Regions from separate parts of the Homo sapiens genome. Here regions 2 and 3 are each linked to region 1. The links are contacts of gene promoters, found by promoter capture Hi-C in blood cells and fetal thymus (Javierre and others, 2016). All regions are on one chromosome and are shown on one strand. Each heading gives the region's core, a stretch centred on a gene start or on the middle of the fragment in contact. The rest is flanking DNA. Distances are from core to core; before and after follow the strand shown. Region 1 holds the start of PTPRM (protein tyrosine phosphatase receptor type M). Region 2 overlaps PTPRM (protein tyrosine phosphatase receptor type M). Region 3 has its middle 120 kb from the start of RAB12.

Evidence for each region. Contacts are between HindIII fragments. The CHiCAGO score rates a contact against its expected background, and 5 or more counts as called.
Region 2: a fragment that was not itself captured here is called in contact with the fragment with the promoter of PTPRM in region 1 in 2 of 17 cell types (M0 macrophages and fetal thymus); the score reaches 5.7 in M0 macrophages.
Region 3: a fragment that was not itself captured here is called in contact with the fragment with the promoter of PTPRM in region 1 in 1 of 17 cell types (endothelial precursors); the score reaches 7.7 in endothelial precursors.

The regions. Positions count from the first base shown.
Region 1 is chr18:7,566,029-7,568,730 of GRCh38, forward strand. It overlaps PTPRM (protein tyrosine phosphatase receptor type M), which reads left to right and starts at 1,288. Exons shown (of 33, transcript NM_001105244.2): 1 at 1,288-1,863. The coding sequence starts at 1,791. RefSeq lists a silencer at 969-1,338. The HindIII fragment of the contact is 6,488 bases long and covers 1-2,702 here.
Region 2 is chr18:8,400,235-8,402,934 of GRCh38, forward strand. The region is part of intron 32 of PTPRM (protein tyrosine phosphatase receptor type M); the gene reads left to right. It overlaps LOC124904241 (a long non-coding RNA gene), which reads left to right. Exons shown (of 2, transcript XR_007066275.1): 2 at 1-2,700. Among named protein-coding and RNA genes, the nearest start is that of RAB12, 210 kb to the right of the region's middle. RefSeq lists an enhancer at 990-1,520. The HindIII fragment of the contact is 3,533 bases long and covers 1-2,700 here.
Region 3 is chr18:8,483,835-8,486,534 of GRCh38, forward strand. No RefSeq gene overlaps it. Among named protein-coding and RNA genes, the nearest start is that of RAB12, 120 kb to the right of the region's middle. The HindIII fragment of the contact is 4,223 bases long and covers 1-2,700 here.

The DNA.
Region 1 (2,702 bases), core at 38-2,537:
ACAGTGGAGAACAGGGTCAAGATGAGTGTGGAATCCATTTATTTTTTTACGTGTTTATAAGCACTAGAAAGCAGTGAGCACTAAGCAGAGGACCCCTCTTGCGGAAAAAGTGCAGGAGAGCTCCTGGGTGCCTCTGTATCACCGGTTTGCCTTCTAGCCAGAATCATTGCTAGAACCCTGTCACTCAGTTACTTTGGTTCCTAATTTAACCTCTTCCCAAGCCTTCTATTGCGTTCAGTTAGCTAGGCCAGGAGCTTACAGCTGTCTGGTTGGTGCTGGCTCAATGTGCTTATTCCCTGGAAGATAGAAGGATCACTTACAAAAAAATTTACAATTAAAATAAAAAAATTATTTTTTGCTGAAGCATTGTAAGGTTTTTTTAATTCACTCAGACCCAAAATCGTAAAACTAAAATATTTCAAGACATTACTTGATTCACCCCCCACTTCTCTTTCTCCCCTGTTTCTCAGCACTTTGCACCAGATACAGAAACCACGGGTTATGTCCAAACCCTGGTTTTGGTGTGACCACCGCCTTCCGTGTACTGCCTGCGGCTCGCTTCGGGCCCACACGGGACACCGAGGCATGATGAGGACGCAGAACAGCAGAAGCGCGCCCTGCTTCCCGGGCGCCAGTGCTCGGGGCCAGCGGCGTGTACCCGGCGGGCCCGGCCGGGAGCGGGCTGGCGATCGCGGGGCTCGGCGCTCCCGGCTCCCGCGCCATCTCCCGGCGCCCGCCAACTTCGCTCCGCCCGCGGCGTAGAGAAGCTCGCAGCCCTCCGGAGCCTCAGCGATCTCCTGGCTCGCTTTTCCCGCAGCCGCCGAGCAGCGCAGGCCCGGCGACTCCGGGTGCAGCTGGCCCTGTGCGGTGACATCGCCGTCCGGCGCCAGGCTCGAAGCCGCCTGGCCGCGCCCGCGGGGTCGCAGGCCGCTGGTCCCGCCCGGCCGCGCTCACAAACTACTCGCGGCTCGTGACCCGGGACAAACTTCTGGCGGCGGCGCAGCCTCTTCCACAGTCACCCTCCCCAGAGCCAGCTACCAAAATAGAAGACGCGGCCGGGGCGAGGAGGTGGGCGGGGGGAGCCCGGTGGCCGCTCCTCCCCGCGCGGCTGACGCCCGCTTCGGCGGCGGTAGTGGCTGTGGCCGCGGGGCCGCCCCCAGCCGAGCTCCCGGAGGCGCTCGGGCGCGGGCCGGCGGGGCACGGGCGCTCACGCCCTCTAGCGGGCCGCGGCGGCGCCGGGCGGCCGTGACGTGAGCGCTCCCTTCAGCCGGCCTGCGGGGCACCGCCAGTCAGTCGGGGAGCAAGAGCCCCGCGCGCAGCCGGCGCGGGCTCGGTCATCGGCGCGCCGCCGCCCGGGGCTGGGCTTGGGGCTGCCTGTGGAGAGGCGGCGGGCGGAACGCGCGCGGCCACGGCCACGGCCACCGCCACGGCCACGGCCGGCAGCTCGGGTCCCGGGTCCCGGGCAGGGGAAGGGGAGAGGCGGCGAGCTCAGCAACCGGAACCGAGGGAAGATTTTGGCTCCGCGGGCTCGCCCTCCGCTCCCTCTGCCAGCGGCGCCAGACGCCGAGTGGGGCCAGGGACAGGGGAGGAGGACCCAGGACCCTGTGCCCGCGCCCCTGGAGCCGCTGGAGTTCGGACTTCTGCAACTGTTGGCACTTTGGGGGCTTGGCTTAGCGCTCTGCTGTTTACCCGTCTCTCCTCGCTGCCTCGGAACCAAAGCTCCCGGCCCCCTCCGCCCTCGCGCGCCCACCCACCGCCGCCGGGGAGCGGCCCGGCCCGCACTCAGCACCATGAGGGGACTTGGGACTTGCCTGGCGACTTTGGCCGGACTTTTGCTAACTGCGGCGGGCGAGACGTTCTCAGGTAAGCGGGACCGCCTCTGCCGCCCCCGAGGCGCGCGGGCCGGCGCGGGACGCCCGGGACGCCGACAGCTCCCTGGTGGTAGAGCCCTAAGGCTGGCGTCGGGGCCGGGCGGGGGGCGCGGCGGGCCGGACACCGCTTCTGCCTGTGAGCCGGGCGCTGGGCGAGGGGCCGTGGGGCTGGCAGGCACCCAGTCCTCGGGCGGGCGGAGCGGACGGACCCCGAGGGCGAGCTCCCCAGCCGGGACTGCCAGCTCGGCCGCCGTCCTTCCGCGGCCTGGGCTAGTGCTCAAGGTTGGGCGGCTTGCACTCTTGAGTCCCTGGCCGGCTGCAAAAGGAACAGCAGAAAACTTTGCTTGAAGTTCCCAGTTGCAGCCGCCGGGCCGCCTGGCGTAGGCGCTGCGCGGTCCCCGCCGACCCCGAGCAGCGGCCGGGCCCAGGCCGCTGGTGTTCGGCTGCGCCCGCAGCGATCGCCGGGAACTGGCGGCCGCTCCGGCGGCGGCGATCTCCCGGTGCCCTGCCCTCCCTGTCGCCCCCTGCCCGGCGCGGCTGGCGACCCCGGGAGGTCCCCGCGGTCGTGCAGCGTCTGCGGAGAGGCTGGGGGGAGTTCCTCGCCGGTCCCAGCGGTAGGGCTTGGCGGCCGCGGAGGGAAGCGGGCAGGTCCCCAGGCCCTGGCCACGGCCCTGCGCCCCGCTGGGCTCCCCCTCCCCACCCTCGTCCCCCTAGCGGAGCGCCGCGGCCAGCTGCAACTTGTTCATCCAGCCCGGCTGCCCGGGGGTCCCAGGTGGGAAGGAGAGGCACTGGCGGTGTGCGAGCAAGCGTGTGAGTGTGTGCGCGTGTGTG
Region 2 (2,700 bases), core at 49-2,548, 830 kb after region 1:
GCTTTAGAACAATTCTGATCCCTGGGCCCACCTGGAGACTGATTCGATTGGTCAGGGGCCTGGCTGCAGCAGCCGAGTGTTAAAAGCCCCTGGTGAGTCTCATGTGCAGCCTAGCTTAAGAACCATGTCTGCTCTAGACGCAGTATCAGCCCAGGCTGCACTTGAGAATCCGCCCACCCCCAACTCCCGGGGGAGCTTTCAGAAATACCAGTGCACAGGCCTGCCCCAGCCCACTTCAGCCAGAGGCTCTGAGATGGAGCCCCCGCCAGGTAGGATAGACGTGCCACACGGCTGAGAAAGTTGGTGTAGGAGGATCAGCGGGCCTCTCCCTTCCCTGCAGTGCCATGCGGCGGTGTTCACAGCTCGCCGCCCCCTCCCCCTCCGTCCCACTTACTCCAGAGCCAGGCCCCATCCTGATCTGCGGATCTGCCGCACAGGTTCAGGTTGCCCCCTCTGTAACTTACAGCCGACCCTCCAGACTCAGCCTCACCTCCCCTTTAGTAAGCCAACAATGGACTCACATACAAAATGCAATGTGGTGTGGGGCCTACAGCTCTCCCCCTTGTGCCACCAACTGGTGTGTATAGGCTGTCCCTCAATAGCTCTTGCTGTGAAATTTGCAGCCTATTTAACGGCTGTGCATGTGTGTGTGCATGTGTTGGGGTGGTGAGTGCAGGAGTTGGGTGGGAATCAGAGGTGAGCTAGGGTCCCCAATCCACACTCCAGGCACCTTGAATCCACCCATGGTCAGTCTTCCTGCACTGTTGAGGAAGGTTTGTAATAATTTTTGCTAATACCCCATCCCCTCTCCCCACCCCCAGATTCCACTTGCCCATCCTGCCCCCTACACTCAGCACCAGCCAAGCGCCTGGCTCCCAGGAGTTTCCCAGTAAGCATTTTCTGAGTGACTGAACCATTCTTCTCTGCAGCCAGACCTGAGTCCAACCTGAGCCACCCTTTGCTGCCCTCTCCAACCTAGGGGAGGTTGTGGCTGTGCTCAGCAGGGCCTCAATAAGGAACTGGGCATGGATTTTGCAGGGGGCTTTGGTGAAGAAAGTTCTACCTATAGGTATTAAAGATAGAGATTAAGGGAATGAGCCACTCATCATTCCAGGGACATGCTGCTGTCTCGCTGAGCAGGGATGAGAATTTATTGGTCTCCTTGGCACAGAGTGGCTGGCCACAACCTGGCTGGGAACACTGAACTGAGGGATCCCACCACGGTAATAGGGCCCACGCTGCCCTTCTGGCAGGGCATCACTCAGAAGAATTTTTCCAGCCCGAAGGATCTGTCCGTTCAGGGTCTAGCCAAAATCATAGAGCTTGCCTTAGTTTCAAAAGCAACCAGGTCAGAGGTGGAGGCTATTCTCTTTGAACCTTTGGAGGCCGTTGATGTGGTGTTTGAAGTGCCCACGCTGGCCGCCAGCCTGAGTTCCTTAGACACAGGCAGCCTGCGCAGACGACAAGGCTCGGGCCCCTGACGGAGGCCCCCAGTGCCGCCCGCTGGTGTGCTGGCCTCGTGACGCCCTCACCAAGCTAGCAGTGGCTTTTAACAGCCAACCTCAATTTCCAGTTCCCTTGCACATTTTGCTTTCTCCCACTCATAGGTACAGGAAGTCTGATCGGGAGCGGGGCCAGCGTCAGGGACCTTGGTGAGGAATAGCAGCAGGTTGCCCTGGTTACGGTCTGACCCAAGGATGTGAGGAGGACCGGGCCAGGCTCCCACCTGAGCCCCTACTCAGGGCACCTCCTCATGCCCGAAGCCAGCTAATGTCACCCAAATTGGAGCACTCAGGACCAAGGCCTAAACATTCCTTTTTCCCCTGGAGCACAGGGATGGCTCATGTGGCTTAATTATACTGTTCAAAAGGGAGTGAGCTGAGAGAGGAAACTGCAGCAGATAGACCTATACCTGGTAATCAAATGTAATCAGTTTCCAATGTAGGAAGATTTCAGGCATTTACCCAGGTGCTTGGGGGAGGGGACACAACAATTTGTGGTCTTCCTTCTCTTTCCCCTTATTTTTCTGATTCAGAAACCAGTCATCACAGAATCTATGGGGACTGGGTGCTTGCTCAGGAAGGATAAGGTGGGAGAGGGAGAATTCATTTTGAAAATTATAGTCATGCCTGAGACAGGGCAGCTTCGGTGACTTCCAAGCAGCAGCTCCTTAGCAGCGAAGCCCAAAATCCCTCCTGAGTTTCCGGCCTGTGTTGTGGCCTGAGGGCAGCAGCCACATCTCTCCACTAGGTGCATTTTAACATGTTAAAAGGAAATATGTTAAAAGGATGGCTCTGAGTAGCCACTGAAATTAATTGCACAATTAGGCTTGTATAAAATCTTTTTTATGCAGTAAGGGATGGGACCGTGTAGATTTCCATTACAGAAAGAATTGTCCCTGTGATTCACAAAAGCATGATGGGAGCACTTCACAGCCAAGATGTCGGCCTGGTGATCTGACAACGTGGCCTTTTGGAATTTTGAAATTCCAATTATCTCTTTTAAATATTCTGAAAATAAAAGTATCAAATCCTGAAATAATAAATACTAGAATATGAATCAGAAATCTAATTTTGCCCAGGGCAAGAAATAATTTTTTCCAGTTAAAAAGTTAAAAAAATACTTCTACCTTTATTGGCATTGTGTGTGGAAAAAGTGGTCTATTTAAGGGAAATACAGGCTAGTAAAATATTTGTTATT
Region 3 (2,700 bases), core at 82-2,581, 920 kb after region 1:
TTTCCTCCCTTTCATGCAGTTTTATGTATATAAGTGTTTTTAAAAGTCAAATAGTTTTATAAGGCTTATAACAAAAAAGAGGCATCTCTCTCTCCACCCTTCCTCACTCTCAGTTCTGATTTCCTAGAAAGCAACCACTCTTTTAAGTTTTCCTTATGGTTTTTGACTCCATATTTCTAAATAAATGGGAATACTGTGATTTTTTGACTTTTAAAAAAATTTTTAGATAGTGCCTGTTGGTTTCTGTTATAGAAGATGAATATATAGCTCTTTTTTTTACCCCAACCCACATAAACACACACCAACATCAAGGTTTACGTTATTATAATTAAATATTATTCACAGCTGAGCCACATAGGTACAGTAATTAAATGTCCCTTCTATAAATTTTCATTTTTGTTTTCTTTGATTATTAATTTATCCTCAATTCCCTACCACTTGTAGTATCTCCTTACAATCTATTCAAATGCCTCAGAGCATCTGATCAATTTCATCTTCTTTCTTAAGACCTCCTTCTTGGTGTCCAGCCCATTATAACCTCGGCTGCTTTCCTGATGTCCCTATACCTCTTTTCCTGGGTAAATCCCATGTCTTCCTCTTCTTGACTCACTTGCTTATTTTGGAGGAGGACATCTTCCAGTAGCTTCCTTAGAAGAGTACATGGAGAATGAAATTTGAGAACTTGTAGGTCTAAAATCTTTTTACCCTACTCTTATTCATGATTTGGTAACTTGGCTAGCTGTCTTAGTCCAGTCACACTGTTATAACAAAATACCATAGACTGGGTACCTTATAAACAATAGAAATTTACAACATTAGTTCTCGTCCACCTAGGGTATGGGGAGACATGTCCGAAATCAGGAAGGCCCTTGACAGCCAAGCAGCAGCCTGAACACTCAACTTCATGGAGGATAAAGGCTACCAGGAAGGAAGAGAAGGGGGGAGAAGGAAAGGGAGAGATTGTCAGAGAAAAATTGTTACTTCAACGTGGGCATTAGGTGAGCCAGGGCCTCCGTAAAACTAATGCACTAAATCAAGGATGGTCCAGCTACCAGGACAGGCCCCCGGTATGAAGTGCAGCAAGACACAATCCAAGTCCTGTCTAAAGTCGCAGGATGACAGATTAACAGAGCCGAAAGGGACCACAGTGATCATCTCTCCAACTCTTTCATTCGAGGCTCAGGGCTTCAGGGCTATGTCTTGGTTCACAGAACACAGTGCTGGCTGCAACCGGTGCCACCATAGAAGGACAGCACCCACTGCCCATGTGCGTTGCTCTCCGGCTCCACAGAACTTGATGCACAGCTTTGTGCACTGGGCACTGGCTGACTCCCTCAGCGGTAACTGTTTCTCATCAGCTCCTCACAGTCTGCCTTCCAGCCACCCGGGGGGCCCCTGGGCTCTGCAAATTCACCATCAGCTCTGCCGCTTTGAGCTTCTGACATGCTGTTTTCTTAGGTCCTCTTGGGTTTCGAGTTACATTTTAGGATGGTCACTTTTTTTTGCTTTTTGGACTGGAACAAGAAAAGACTAAAAGGAGGCTGCTGTAGTGGTCCAAGCCCTCCATCACAGTGGCATGGACCAGGTAGAGATGGTGGCCGTAGCAAGAAATGGGCAAATTTGAGGCTTATTTTTGAAGGAGAACTGATAGGACTTGCTGATGGACTAATGATGGAAGTGGGGGAGTCAGGTGTAACTCCTCAGTTCCAGCTTAAGGAAGTGGAAAGTCATGGTGCCACTCACTGTCAGAGGCAAAGCTGGGTCATGAAGAGGTGGTTTGGGGGGGAAATAAAGAGATTTTTAAGACATGCAAAATTAATTGCAGTGTTTCAGACAGATACAACAGGAGGTTGTCTGAAAATGCCAAATGAACATAACCCTGAACCCTGGGGGTCTCAGAATACTCTTCTGGGAAATCAAAAGGCTGAATAATATCATCCTGATGTACCCCTCCCACACACCAACAACCTTCATTCCAACACTTGGTCTAGGCTGGTCTCTCTCCAGAAGTTGGATATGTCGACTCGTATCTCAGAGGAGAGATCTAGGCTGAAATGCATGGACTTGAGACAGCAGCATGAAGATGAAACTTAAATTCAGGGTAACTTATGCAGTCATATGGGAAGAAAGTATGGGAAGAAAAGAGAAGATGACTCTGGGCTGCCTGAGCCTTCAGGAGTCCCAGCTTTCAGAGGTCAGGTAGGTGAGAAAGACTCTAATAGCTCCTGTTCTTTTAGCACTTCTGGAGGAAGGTGGGCAAAGCAGTAGAAAACCTGTTCAAACTTAAATGACTCAAGTTTTCCCTTGACTTCTGGAGTATGCCTGGTAGGGACGAAGACTACAACTATTACCTAAAACCCAGCCTCTGGCAACCAGGAAATGACTCCCTCTGTGAGGACCATGACCCAGTTAAATCGAAAGCTACTCCAAACCCCAAGAACAGGTTTTCTAAAGAAAGACCCTGTCTATTAAAACCCCTGGAAACTGAAGATGTGATTTCACAGTTTGACAGTTGATTCTGTGGTGGACTGTGTTTGTGACACATAGGGAAACAGTTAATGATAGAAAACATCATCACTTCTGAAGGAGGGCATTAGAGAAGGTTACTTGTGGCTCAATAATTCTTCAGGGGGCCAGATGTGGTGGCTCACGCCTATAATTCCAGCATATTGGGAGGCCGAGATGAAAGGATCACTCGAG